Linked DNA regions of Homo sapiens: regions 1, 2 and 3 are each linked to region 4. The links are contacts of gene promoters, found by promoter capture Hi-C in blood cells and fetal thymus (Javierre and others, 2016). All regions are on one chromosome and are shown on one strand. Each heading gives the region's core, a stretch centred on a gene start or on the middle of the fragment in contact. The rest is flanking DNA. Distances are from core to core; before and after follow the strand shown. Region 1 overlaps CYFIP2 (cytoplasmic FMR1 interacting protein 2). Region 2 has its middle 10 kb from the start of THG1L. Region 3 overlaps LSM11 (LSM11, U7 small nuclear RNA associated). Region 4 holds the start of ADAM19 (ADAM metallopeptidase domain 19).

The links. Contacts are between HindIII fragments. The CHiCAGO score rates a contact against its expected background, and 5 or more counts as called.
Region 1: a contact is called between a fragment that was not itself captured here and the fragment with the promoter of ADAM19 in region 4, in 1 of 17 cell types (endothelial precursors). The highest score is 5.9, in endothelial precursors.
Region 2: a fragment that was not itself captured here is called in contact with the fragment with the promoter of ADAM19 in region 4 in 1 of 17 cell types (activated CD4 T cells); the score reaches 5.8 in activated CD4 T cells.
Region 3: a contact is called between a fragment that was not itself captured here and the fragment with the promoter of ADAM19 in region 4, in 1 of 17 cell types (neutrophils). The highest score is 7.2, in neutrophils.

What each region holds. Positions count from the first base shown.
Region 1 is chr5:157,369,980-157,373,453 of GRCh38, forward strand. The region is part of intron 26 of CYFIP2 (cytoplasmic FMR1 interacting protein 2); the gene reads left to right. All of the region lies in intron 1 of NIPAL4-DT (NIPAL4 divergent transcript), which reads right to left. Among named protein-coding and RNA genes, the nearest start is that of FNDC9, 26 kb to the left of the region's middle. The HindIII fragment of the contact is 4,441 bases long and covers 1-3,474 here.
Region 2 is chr5:157,719,347-157,722,574 of GRCh38, forward strand. No RefSeq gene overlaps it. Among named protein-coding and RNA genes, the nearest start is that of THG1L, 10 kb to the right of the region's middle. The HindIII fragment of the contact is 2,063 bases long and covers 302-2,364 here.
Region 3 is chr5:157,747,064-157,750,475 of GRCh38, forward strand. The region is part of intron 1 of LSM11 (LSM11, U7 small nuclear RNA associated); the gene reads left to right. Among named protein-coding and RNA genes, the nearest start is that of LSM11, 5.1 kb to the left of the region's middle. The HindIII fragment of the contact is 2,676 bases long and covers 822-3,412 here.
Region 4 is chr5:157,574,442-157,577,869 of GRCh38, forward strand. ADAM19 (ADAM metallopeptidase domain 19) reads right to left here and starts at 1,334. Exons shown (of 23, transcript NM_033274.5): 1 at 1,162-1,334. The coding sequence starts at 1,255. LOC124901121 (a long non-coding RNA gene) reads left to right here and starts at 538. Exons shown (of 2, transcript XR_007059018.1): 1 at 538-929; 2 at 1,839-2,169. RefSeq lists enhancers at 30-559, 796-875, 2,733-3,348, 3,349-3,428 and a silencer at 1,046-1,485. The HindIII fragment of the contact is 8,826 bases long and covers 1-2,811 here.

The DNA of each region.
Region 1 (3,474 bases), core at 197-2,696, 200 kb before region 4:
CAAGCAGTTCTCTGCCTCAGCCTCCCGAGTAGCTGGGATAACAGGCACCTGCCACCATGCCTGGATAATTTTTGTATTTTTAGTAGAGACCAGGTTTCACCCTGTTGGCCAGGCTGGTCTTGAACTCCTGACCTCGTGATCCATGCGCCTCAGCCTCCCAAAGTGCTGGGATTACAGGCATGAGCTACCACACCTGGCCAGACCCAGATGTTTTAAAAGCTCCACACTTGACTCTGATGTGCAGTCAGAGTGGAGGATCTCTGATCTAGAAGCATTTTCTTGGACTAGAGCTGCCAGAGTCTTGACATTGATGCTTAGTTGTCACAGTTCTTGCCACATCTGCAGATCACTGATTCTGTTATTTACATAATCTTTTTACTGAAACTTAATTTTAAAAGGAAACTATCACTTCCATTTAAAAAAATCATCCCTTGCCATCATTAGAAAGCAACCAGAATAATACATTCAATCAATCAAAATACAGCAAAGTCATATAATTCCAGCTGCTGCCTGCCCAGATCTCTGAACACAAGCCCTACTCCCTCTTTGATAAAAACAAGATTAGTAAATATTAGGTGCTAACATGTGCTGGTTTCAAATGGAGACTTTCTCATTAAGGTTGTCAGAAAGATTGATAGGAAACTGAAAAAGGAAAGAACTTGCTCACTGTGTGGCTCACTATGATTAAATCACATTTCCTTGTATGCCCAATTTCCACTTTAGGAAATGCTAACCTTGGAAGACATTGGCATATACTTGAGGGAAGAGAAAGCCCACTTTCTAGGCCACAGTTTCCTGGCTATAGATCTTTTCCAGTTGACCAGACATGATTCTGATCCAGAATAATAATTCTATTATCCCCTTGACAATTCAGGGGACGGAGGAAGGGGTTGGAAGTGAAACATAGTAATATACAGCACTATTCAAGCAAGGCATAGATTGACAGGAAAAGATCACACACAGAATCAGGTAAGATTAAATTACTGATAGATTTAGCAAGGGCTATGAAGAGCTGCTGGAAGTGAGGGACCAGTGGAACAGGAGCAGAGACAGCGTCTCTCGGTTGGGCTTTCCACTGCACCTGGAGTCCCAAATGAGGGCTGGAAGCTGTGGCTTGTACATTCTGTGCAAGGGGAGAGGGTCATGGTGCAAGTGGGAAGCCTAATTTCTTGCCTGCTTCACAGGCTCTGTATCCTCGGGGCTTAACATCAGTATGCGGGAAACACATTATGTGCCTCCATATAAGGGAATGTTTAGAACACTAAGCTCTCTGGTTAGGGCCCAGCTCCCCGTCCCCCTCCTGCCAGAAAATCCAAGCAGCGATCCCTGTGGGGTGCCTGGACCTCCCATTTCCAGCTCCTTTCTCCATACAAAAACATAATGCATTAGTGTTATTTGTCTTTTTGTTGCCTCAAAAATCAGAGTTAAAGGTTAAGAAAATACTGGTTTGATGATGCTCTTTAGGAAATCAGCTAAAAATGGTAGTTTTTCACTCAGCTGTGAACAGAACCCTAAAGGTAGAGTCTAATGCCATTCTGCATAAATCTGGCATTCTTAGGATCATATTGAATCTTTTTAAAATATGTACGCGGAATCTTTATGGTAGCCTGTAGCCAAGAGAAATCAAGTCTCCAGTTAGCCTCATAGACTAAGTGAGTTGGGAACACTTAAGGTTTTTGATATTTGATGGAATCCCTCAGTTTTAAAACTAGTGGTCCATCAGTTTTAAATTAACTATAATATGAAAAGAAAATTAAATTAAGACAGAAAGTAATGCAAAAATAAAACATGAATCCCTTAAATTCTGATGTGAGTTCCTTACAGTAAAATATTTTTGCATCCTGACCCTAAAAACCTTTTTTGCTTTTACTGTCAACACAGCAATTTTACAGTAGACAGACTGTGGTTCTTAATCACCTAATGATTATTTCTCTTGTAGTTATCATATAGTGGGAATAATAAACATTAGCGTGACACTTGGTACATGCAAAACTACTGAATCATAACTTTTACTCATTAACTCCTCCCAGAGAGAAACTTCTGCAGAAGCACAAGCTCCTGGGAGTTCTCCAAGGAGGGATCGTTGAAGTTCGTTGTTTTTGTATAACAATTGCATATTATTCACACTTTGGAAAACTCATCATGGTTAGATCCTGGTTCCACAAAAAAGCTATAAAAGAAACATTTTAAGAACAATTGAGGAAATTTTAGTCTAGACTACATCGTGTATCATATTAAGAAAATTTTAAATATAGGGGAATCACAATTCTGAGGTTGCACAGGAGGATGTCCTTGTTTTTAGGAGTTGCATGCTTAGGTATTTAAGGCTGAAGTGACTCAATGTCTTCCATTTACTCTCAAATGACTCAGTAAAGTTAAAGCAAATATGACAAAATGTTCATTTTGACTGTACATCAAGGTTATAAGGATATTCATTATTCCTTCAAATATTTTATGTGTTTAGAATTTTTCCTAATATGAAGTTGAAGCGGGGGACATAAAACTTCAACAGGGGATCAAAAAGTTAAGAAGGAAAGGGGTTAAACCAGACAAGGTTGTGACATATGAGGAGGAGGAAAGTCATGAGGGTTTTTGTCTTTTCCAGCTACCCTGCTAGTTGGTAAGATCTATTCTTGGTAACATATATCCCGGAGCTACATCTGGCCTCATTAAAAAAATTTATAGACGCATTTGCTAGCATCGAACTTGGCTGTGACTTACAGGCTGACCACCTATTTGATTTACCATGAGGAAATACCAGTTTAAGATCCAAGAAAGACAAATGAAGCCAGGGAAGCTGGCCGGTCCAAATTAGAGGCCAGTGAGAGACCCTTAGAGAACACCTCTGGCAGCCACCCTCCTCCCATTGGCCGTGGTGGGAAGGCTTACCTTCTGCTTCAGGAATACTAACAGAGAAACACACACACACACAAATACACACACAAAGAATGCCTTCTCCCTATGCTCTGTTTAAGAGAAATGTCTCAAACCCAGCTCCACTGAGGGTCACTGCCTTTCCACGCTTGAGCCGAGAGAGGGTCATGCCTTAACATTAACAGCAAAGGGGTCTTCATACATTATAAATTTTATACTCTCCAGCTTAAAACTAACAGGTGGATTCTTGTTATACTTAAAATTCAAACTCCCAACTTTGACCCACAAGGCTCAGAAGATTTCAGCCATGCCTATTCCACCAACTTATCTATTATTACCACTCTCTGCCTGGCTGCACAACCCAACCACATGGCATACTTTGGGGGTCAAGTTACAGAGAAAGAAACTGAGGTTCACTGCAGGTCTGCATCAGGGCAAGACTGAATCCCACTGTCCTTGGCTTCTACCTTAAGGCTTGTTGACATTTACGACCTTGGCCTTGTAATTCAAGGGCACCAAGAACACCCCTTCAGCCCCCCAGAAAGAGCACTGCCACTTTCTATCACAGTGTCTGAAATTCTATTAGAGACTCGCTCCATG
Region 2 (3,228 bases), core at 83-2,582, 140 kb after region 4:
GCTCAAGGGATTGGTTTGACTAGGCATGACATTCACGTAGCCTGTAAAAAAGCTGACCCTCCCACCCTAGCCTTTTAATATGCAAATGTAGGGCGCCATGATGTTCTACACTCCTGGGGATATTTGGAGGTGGCCATGTTGCCAGGAACATGTGGGGAAAGGGCAGGAAGGCCACAGGAATCTCCATGTTTGGGTGGGCCCACTTTCTAATGGTCAGTATTTGCATATCAAAGGTTGGTGGGCTGCTGCTAAGAGCCAGGGATTTAAGAGAAACTTTTCCAGAGATGCTTTAAAAAACAAAAGCTTCCCTTGGCCAGGCACGGTGGCTCACGCCTGTAATCCCAGCACTTTGGGAAGCCGAGGCGGGAGGATCACGAGGTCAGGAGATAGAGACCATCCTGGCTAACACAGTGAAACCCCGTCTTTACTAAAAATACAAAAAAAAAAAAAAAAAATTAGCCGGGTGTGGTGGTGGGCACCCGTAGTCCCAGCTACTCAGGAGGCTGGGCCAGGAGAATGGGGTGAACCTGAGAGGCGGAGCTTGCAGTGAGCCGAGATTGCGCCACTGCACTCCAGCCTGGGCAACAGAGTGAGACTCTGTCTCAAAAAAAAAAGAAAAAAAGAAAACTTCCCAAGGACCTCTCTTCCTACAACATTCCCCGCTATGGAGATGCCACACTAACTGCTGTTAGAGGGTTTTGGGTTATGGTTCTTTCTGGCTACTTTCTGCTGAAAAGGGGAGTCACATGGGGGAACAGCAGCTAGGGCTCCTCCTGGGGTGGATCTAAGGGTCCTCAGAAGAATGGCATCTCCATGTGTGTTTCAGTTTACAGCACCGTTTGGAGTTTGATTGCTTCTAGGTGAGAAGAAACAATTTGAGTTATAGTATTGAGTATATAGGCTCCAAATATCAATACAAGACATATAAGCAAGAGAGTGCTTAAAAAAGGGGTTAACCAATTCCATAAAGAAGACTGGAATTTATTAAAAAGGGATTGTAGCCACTCAGAGCTGAAGCTGTCATTTTTCCTGAGCCTGTCAATAATTATGATTTGATTTTTTTTTTTTCTGAGATGGAGTTTTGCTGTTGTTGCCCAGGCTGGAGTGCAATGGTGTGATCTCGGCTCACTGCAATCTACGCCTCCCGAGTTCAAACAATTCTCCTGCCTCAGCCTCCTGAGTAGCTGGGATTACAGGTGCGTGCCACCATGCCCGGCTAATTTTTTGTACTTTTAGTAGAAACAGGAATTCACCATGTTGGCCAGGCTGGTCTCGAACTCCTGACCTCAGGTCATCTGCCTGCCTCAGCCTCCCAAAGTGCTGGGATTACAGGCATGAGCTGCCATGCCCAGCTGATTTGATTTTTAAGTACCTGTAGATTTTCCTCTACTTTACTAGCGGTGTTAATCCAAAAGCAGCATGTTTCATTTAAAACTGCATTACTAAACCCCAAAAAAGGCCTAGCAGACTCAGTGATGGTAAAACTTTCATGCTTCCTTTTTGTCAACTATTATCCCTGCTATAAAGATAATAATTAAGCAAAATACTACAGCAATGGAAACTCTCTGTCCAATATTTCAGTTTAAAGATGCTACCATGGGAGGTCTGTTCCAAGATGGCTGAATAGGAACAGCTCTGGTCTGCAGCTCCCAGTGTGATTGACGCAGAAGACGAGTGATTTCCCACTAAGGTACCTGGTTCATCTCTTTGGGACTGGTTGGACAGTGGGTGCAGCCTACAGAGGGAGAGCCGAAGCAGGGTGGGGCGTCACCTCACATGGGAAGCAGAAGGGGTCAGGGGATTTCCCTTTCCTAGCCAAGGGAAGTCATGATAGACTGTACCTGGAAAAACAGGACACTCCCGCCCAAATACTGGGCTCTTCCCATGGTCTTAGCAGCTGGCAGACCAGGAGATTCTCTCCCGTGCCTGGCTCAGTGGGTCCCACCCCCATGGAGCCTTGCTCACTGCTAGCGCAGCAGTCTGAGATCCACCTGCCAGGCTGGAGCCTGGTGCAGGGAGGGGCGTCCGCTATTGCTGAGGCTTGAGTAGGTAAACAAAGTGGCCTGGATGCTCGAACTGGGTGGAGCCCACCACAGCTCAGCAAGGCCTACTGCCTCTATAGAACTCCACCTCTGTGGGCTGGGCATAGCTGAAAAAAAGGCAGCAGAAAATTCTTCAGACTTAAACATCCCTGTCTGACAGCTCTGAAGAGAGCAGTGGTTCTCCCAGCACAGTGTTTGAGTTCTGAGAACAGACAGACTGCCTCCTTGAATGGGTCCATGACGCCCATGTAGCCTAACTGGGAGACACCTCCCAGTAGGGGTCGACAGACTACTCATACAGGTGGGTGACCCTCTGGGACGAAGCTTCCAGAGGAAGGATCAGGCAGCAATATTTGCTGTTCTGTAATATTTGCTGTTCTGCAGCCTCCACTGGTGATATCCAGGCAAACAGGGTCTGGAGTGGCCCTCCAGCAAACTCCAACAGACCTACAGCTGAGGGACCTAACTGTTAGAAGGAAAACTAACAAACAGAAAGGAATAACATCAACATCAACAAAAAGGACATCCACACCAAAAACCCCATCTGTAGATCACCAACATCAAAGACCAAAGGTAGATAAAACCACAAAGATGGGGAGAAACCAGAGCAGAAAAGCTGAAAATTCTAAAACCAGAGTGCCTCTTCTCCTCCACAGGATCGCAGCTCCTTGCTAGCAATAGAACAAAGCTGGATGGAGAATGACTTTGATGAGTTGACAGAAGTAGGCTTCAGAAGGTCGGTAATAACAAACATCTCTGAGCTAAAGGAGCATGTTCTAATCCATTGCAAGGAAGCTAAAAACCTTGAAAAAAGGTTAGACAAATGGCTAACTAGAATAAACAGTGTAAAGAAGATATTAAATGACCTGATGGAGCTGGAAACCATGGCACGAGAACTTCGTGATGCATGCACAAGCTTCAATAGCTGATTCGATCAAGTGGAAGAAAAGATATCAGCGACTGAAGATCAAATTAATGAAATAAAGTGAGCATACAAGATTAGAGGAAAAAAGTAAAAAGAAATGTACAAAGCCTCTGAGAAATATGGGACTATGTGAAAAGACCAAATCCACGTTTGATTGGTGTACCTGAAAGTGATGGGGAGAATGGAACCAAGTTGGAAAACGCTCTTCAGGATATTATCCAGGAGAACTTCCCCAACCTAGCAAAGCAGGCCAACATTCAA
Region 3 (3,412 bases), core at 910-3,409, 170 kb after region 4:
GAATGCAATTGCTTTTCCTCCTTTTTAATATTGACATGCCTATAGAGATGGTAAGACAAGACTAAAGAGCATTATCCTCTTTTCCACATAATTCTAGTGTCTATATTTCTCCTTAGTATCGCAGCACCATACCTAGCCCACGGTGGTTCTGGTTTATAATTGTGCTTCAAGCAAGCTTTTTCTAGGTATATCTGTCACTGTGAAATGAACTGGTGTGTTCAAGCTCACGTCTTGACATTATAAAGCTGTAAGAAAAAGTGTTATCATTACTTTGTTTTAGCTACAGGTGTGTTGGTGTGCAGCCTGTGCCGGTGTGAACAAGTGTGTGTGGTCAATCCAAAATGCATATGACATGCAGGGTTTGGCTCCTAGACCATTGTCTAGGTGAATGGCTTGTCTCCAGTTCCAAATTCAGTTTTCCTGCAGGGAGCCTACACAGTCCTTTTACTCGCACACATCCTGCTGAGAAGGATTTCAAAACAAACCTGATTTATTGGGCCTCTGACGTGATACCATGATTGAAAATTTGTTTGAGTCCTGTTGTTGTAGTTTACTTTGATTGCTGAAATAATTTCCCACAATATGGTGTCTTGATGTTTTCATTTTAATAAAGTGATATTCTTTGGATAACTTTGACTTCACTTCCTGCAAATAAAGAGCAAGAAAATAGGCAAAATCAAGAACATCTGAGCCCTGTGTACAGCAGTAAAATGAACTCTCAAATTTGAACAGCATCTCTGTTACACAGAGGTTGCCAAAAGGGCATGAGTATGACTTACATAAAACCGAGAACAGCGGTACTTAGGCTTCAGAAAAGGCCAAGCTTAAAATTCAGCCTTGTCACTTTTCTCAGCTCATTGCAGCTGTTTCCAGTCAGCTGTCTCCAGTGCAACTAAGGAATAGTCTCAGATGATTTCTGCACCACACTGCTGTGTGTGTGTGTGTGTGTGTGTGTGTGTGTGTGTTTAGGCCAGTTTGACATAGCATCACAATAGGGAAGACACTGATGTGCCTTTGCCGGGTCACTGATTCAAACATTGTACTTTCAATCTGTCATGGCACCCTTCTATAGAATGGCAACTAAAACTATTTTCAGAGAAAAGAGAAAATATTTTTCCATTGCAGACTCATAAGGTGACTGTTACAGTTTGTGGTTTCATTTCTCTGGGCCCTTAATAGGTTATGGAATCTGGGGAGCTGCCTTTGCCCTAATGAGCTAATAACTTTGTATATTTGGAGATATATATGTAGATACAGTTTTGTCCTTAAATCTTTGAATAGGTAGTTGTGGAGGCTAAAGCAACTCCATCTTGAATGCCAGTCCACCATGTTGACTTCTGATTAAACCCAGTTCTGGGAAGGCCTCTAAGATTTCCAATTTATCTGTTGTTTCTTGTGTAAGAGCATGTACTTACTGTAATTCCTGTCCTTACATGAGAACAACCTTGACGTTATCTTACTTCAATTGTCCTACACATCCCTTCTGAATCACCCTTTCCCTGTAGCATATAAGCCCTGCATCTGGGGGTCATGGCACGGGGATCCACCATCTTGTTTTGCCGCCACCTGAGACGCAGACGTGGCTTCTGTTCCTACATTCCTATTAAATATTTCTTTCTAAGGAAAACAAGAGTTACTGTAAGAGGCAAGTTTTAGGTCTTTAAAGAAGGGCATGATTGAGAACAGTTATTTTAAAATCAGGCTGTGATGGTATAATTTACATGTAGCAGGAGAAGGAAGAGTGGAGCTGAAAATGACCTGGATCTGGAAGGATGTGGCAATAGAGAAGGGGATTGGAAGAGTAACTTTCTCCAAAGATAAGGCATATGCTTTTTTGTCATATTTGGTCATAGAAACCTGACTCATATCCATTTGGAGCTTGCCACAGAGACGGCTGGAAAGAGAATGTGCACTCTGATTCAGAATGGGGAGCTCATTTTTGCCTTGGCGGTTTGCTCTGATAGGTGGTGCTAGTGTCGTACTTTTGATCACACAAGGATACAAGGAGAGCAATGCTTCCTGGAATTACACCTTATTAAATCTTTGGAAGAAAAAAATTAAAGGTACACGTTTGAGAAAGACCAATTGAAAGACCTGAATTTGCCATCTATTTAATTAGAGTAAGAGACTGTTGCTAAGATACCTGCTTGCCCTTTCTATTTTTGGAGGTGTGGGAAAGAAGTAATGTCCCTGTTTTTTTCCAAGTTAGAAAAAAATAGTCTTTCCACTCTTTGTATAAACATACATCATAGGGCAGGGGGCAGTATATATGTATGTGTAGGAAAAGAAATAATGCAAGCATGTGATCAGTTTCTAAGAAATTGAGTTATTGGGACTTAGTCCTGAAATAAATCTACAAGTTAACTATCTTAACCTCATTTTATGAATGAGGAAATTTGGAACTTAAAGAAAAAGTTATTCATCAGGTTCACACAACTAGTTATAATGACCTGAAAATTGTTTACAATGCTTGAATGCTTGATTTAATATGGCCTATAACACATATACACGCGCGCGCACGCGCGCACACACACACACACACACCCACACACCCATACACACCCTTAGCTAGCAAATGTACAAAGGACTTTAAAATACTGCTAGAAGAGAGGTAAATGATGATGGTCAGACCAGAATTCTCATGGTCTTTTCCAAAGTCACTGCTTCGTGTCGCTTCCAACTCCGAGTTATTCTCACACCGTTAATCTGACATAAACTCCTGCTAGTCTGCTAAGTCATTTTCTTCTAAGAATCTTTTATTAATTTATCACAGCCATCATTTATAAGCCAATCCATGACAGAGGGATAAGGTGGCTTCAGGAGGAACCAATTTAGTTATCCAAACTGAAGTGCAGGACTGTTGTTCTCCTTTATGTCACTAGAAACAAAGCAGGAGAGATTTTTCATTTGTCTACTGTCAATGCCAAATACTCTATATATCCAGACTTCTAAGACCTGACCAAAAATAAACTTTCTACAGAATTTTGCGTTGCAAACTTGGGAAAGAGTGAGACTGTGTACGCACGAGAAAGAGAGAGAGATTGGGGGTGCGTAGTGCGTGCCTGTAGTCCCAGCTACTCAGTGGGTTGAGCTAGGGGGATCGCTTGAGCCAGGGAGGTCAAGGCTGGAGTGAGCTGTGATTGTGCCACTGCACTCCAGCCTGGGTGACAGTGAGACCCTGTCTCAGGAAAAAAGAATGTGTACGGCTTTCTTTTGGGAGGTTTTATATACCATAGCCAGCATATTGTGAGAGCTGAGTTAACATGAAATAATAAAAATAAAATTCATCTTTCCTCCCACGCTCTGAGAATCCTTCATAATAAAAGCTGAAATTTATAGTCTCAATATTCTTCCTATGAGTCATTATCCTGCTCTCTTCACATGATGCTTATTAGTAGTGTCATAGGAGCCA
Region 4 (3,428 bases), core at 84-2,583:
TTGAGCCCTTTGGGAGGACCGCCCGACCTCGGCCCCTGGAAGTTCCGAACTGTCGGAAGAGCTCTCAGCCTCTGGGTTTGAGGCGGCCCGGGGGTCCAGCCAGCCCACCCTCGCTCCGCCGGTGCTCGCTCTATTTGAAAACGCTGACTGTTGGTCCCCCAAGCAGCAGTCTGGAGTCAGCCCAGCCCGTCTGCAGCGGTGGAGCCAGGGCTAAGCCTTCTCCGGTCATAATGAGAGAACCCGGGCACCGCCCCCCGGGACCAAGCCTTCCGCGAAATCTGCTTATAGCCCCCGAGGGATGGAGCCGGGGAGGGGATTGGTGTCTGGGAAACTAGTCCTGAGAAACACGGACATCACCCGGCATCTTAGCTGGAAACATCGAGTCAGACCCCTTCGCTTCACAGAAGGGGAAACTGAGGACCAAAGAAGGCGGCCGTCGGGTTGGCGTGGAAAGAGAGCCCTGGTTTCCAGTGCCACCGCGGACCTCAACCCGTGGCGTGGCCTTGGGCAAGTCCTTTCCCTTTTGTGGGCCTCGGTTTCCCCATCTGTGAAATGGGTGCGTTTGACTTGGCCTTCAGTAGGGCTCCTGCCAGCTCGGGGATCCGAAGTGTGTGGCTGCAGATACCCAGCGAGCCATCCCCTAGCCAAGGCTACCACAGTCTGCCGCGGGCATTTTATGTCCTACCCCACCAGTGTGGCAGGCACCGAGCCTGGTCCCAGGAAGCCGCTCCCAGGCCACACGGGCAGGGCGCTCGGGATGCTCGGCGTTGGCGAGTGCAGCGGGCGGTAGAGAGAAAGACAGAGAGAGAGGCGGAGCGGACACGAGGGACCGTGAGAAAACGGAGGAGGATAAGCCCCGAGAACGGCGGAAAGAGAAGCCAAAAGCAGAAAAACAGAGGAAGGAGAAGGCGAGAAGGGAAGGCTAGCCAGTGAGCGGACCGGCTGTTTTCTGGCTGCGCCGGGTTTCCCCGACCTCTGCCACCTCCCAGGGCGCAGAACGTGGGAACAAAGCCCGGGCTCCCAGGCTGGGGACGGCGGGGGCGCAGGCCCCGCGGAGTTGCGGGAGGCGCAGGGGTCGCGGTCCCAGCGCTCCGGACCCGCAAGGCTACTCCCAGGTCTCCGGGCCACCCAGCCTCCATCCCCCCGCGCCTGGCCACTTACTTGTCCATCCAGGCTCCCGCGCCGCCCGCGGCCGGAGGGGCTGCAGGGCAAACGCCAGCAAGCAGAGCCGGGCGGCGCCTGCGCCCCCTGGCATGGTGGCGGCGGCCCTTAGCGCTCGGCGCTCACACGCCCTCAGCCATACCTGCCCACTGCCCGGCGGTGGAGGCGCGTCTGGAACCCCCCGGCTCGCCCCGCGCCTCCCCACCCGGCTCCCAGCCCTCTGCCGAGACGCTCCGCCTCCAGCCCCGCGGGCCTCCGCCAGGGGATGGAGGAGGGGAGGCTCCAGCCCGGAGGGGGCTGGAGGGAGGGGCCGGGGAGGAGCTGGCGAGACTCGGGGGAGCGGGGCTGGCTCAGGTGAGGGAGACCGCGGGGAAGGGAGAATCCGAGCCCCCCAGGAGGAGGGATTTGTGGTGGACGCGGCCTGTAGAGGGTCGGGGACTCGGGCTTCTAGGAGTTAAACTGGACCCCTCTCCGCACAGCGGCCCGTTTACTGTCCCGCACTGTGCCAGACGCCTTGGGTGACACTCAGAGGTGATTCACCCAGCGCCGTCCCCCGGGGGCCGCCACTCTCGGAGACAGGCTCAGAAAGAGTTAACCCAACCGCCAGGCACAAAGAACTAAGTGCTATATGGACTTCTTTTTTTTTTTTTTTTTTTTTTTTTTTTTTTTTTTTTAAGCAGGACACAAATCCAGGAGCCATTCCTTCTGCCTGGGAGGAGGGAGTGATGAAGACCAGAGGAATCCCAGAGGAGAAGCCATCTGAGATCGGGAGGAGGAGAAATGGAACATCAGGCGGAGGAAACAGCCCAGACAATCGCACTGGGACGTGAAAACCCTTGGGCTGCATGCGGGGAGAAAACCAGAATTGGGGATGGTTAGGGTTTTGGAGGGAAACACAGGGACATGTGACCAAAAATAATAATAACTACTGTTACTTATTGAGGACTTTCTATGTACTAGAATAAGAAAATCATGATAGCTAAGACTGATAAAACGCTAAGTGTCAAACGCTGTCTTCAGCACTTTACACATATTCACTTATTTAATTAATCGGAGAAAATAACTTTTATGAGCCAGGGACTCTGCATACATTATCTCTTTTCATTAGCCCAGTAATCCCATGGGGTAGGTACTAGTACTATCCCTGTTTTAGAAATGAGGAAATCAAACCTGAGAGGCTAAACCACTTGCCCAAGATTACACAGCTAATGTCAGTGCCTAGATTCAAACCCACATCCGTATAACTCCAGAGCCTGATGCAACACACCTTATTTTCCAGGTGGAGAAACTGATAATGAGAGAGAAATGACTTGCCTAAGATCCCTCAGCAAGTTTTAGCAAAGCCTCGTTGTAGAATCCCAGCCTCAAACCTCGTCCATCTGTTCCTTTTTCTGAGCCTCTTTAGTCAAACCCAGGTTGACTAGAGAAGTGCTAAGTGTTGGAGAGGGCGAGGCACTCCTGAAGATGATGGGTAGGTAGGTCTATCAAACCCTACTCATGGGCACCCATGAGGGAAATCAAATAAGTGGTTCTGGCCATTAATGTCGTTTGGGACTCCGTTAGTCTCCAGCTGCTGTAAAATTCGTATCTTTCTGTGAACCCGAAATATCTGAGATAGGTCTCAGTCAATTTAGAAGGTTAATTTTGCCAAGCTTAAGAACGTGCTCATGACACAGCCTCAGGAGGTCCCAACATGTGCCCAGGGTGGTGGGGGTGTAGCCTCCTTTTATATATTTTGGGGAGACATGAGACATCAATCAATATGTGTAGGATGTACATTGCTTCCGGTCCGGTAAGGCAAGACAACTCCAAGCTGCAGAAAGGGTGGTGCTTCCAGGTTATAAGTAGATAAGAAACAGAAGAGGTTACATTCTTTTGAGTCCTTGATCAACCTTCCACTGAATACACAATTTAGTCTAGCTCAGTGAATCTACATTTTTACATAAACAATAGGGCAGAAGAAGCAATCAGATATGCATTTGTTTCCGGTGAGCCTCAGAGGGATGGCTTTAAATTCTGTCTGTCCTTTGTCCACAAGGAATTTCCTTGTGTGAAAATTGTGAGGAAGGTATGTAGCTGTTTCTCTTTGTAGCTATCTTATTTAAGAATAGGATGGTGGCCTGGCATTGTGGCTTAGGCCTGTAATCCCAGCACTTTGGGAGGCCAAGGCGGGCAGATCACCTGAGGTCAGGAATTCGAGACCAGTCTGACCAATGTGGCGAAACCCTGTCTCTACTAAAAATACAAAAAAAATTAGCCAGGCGTGG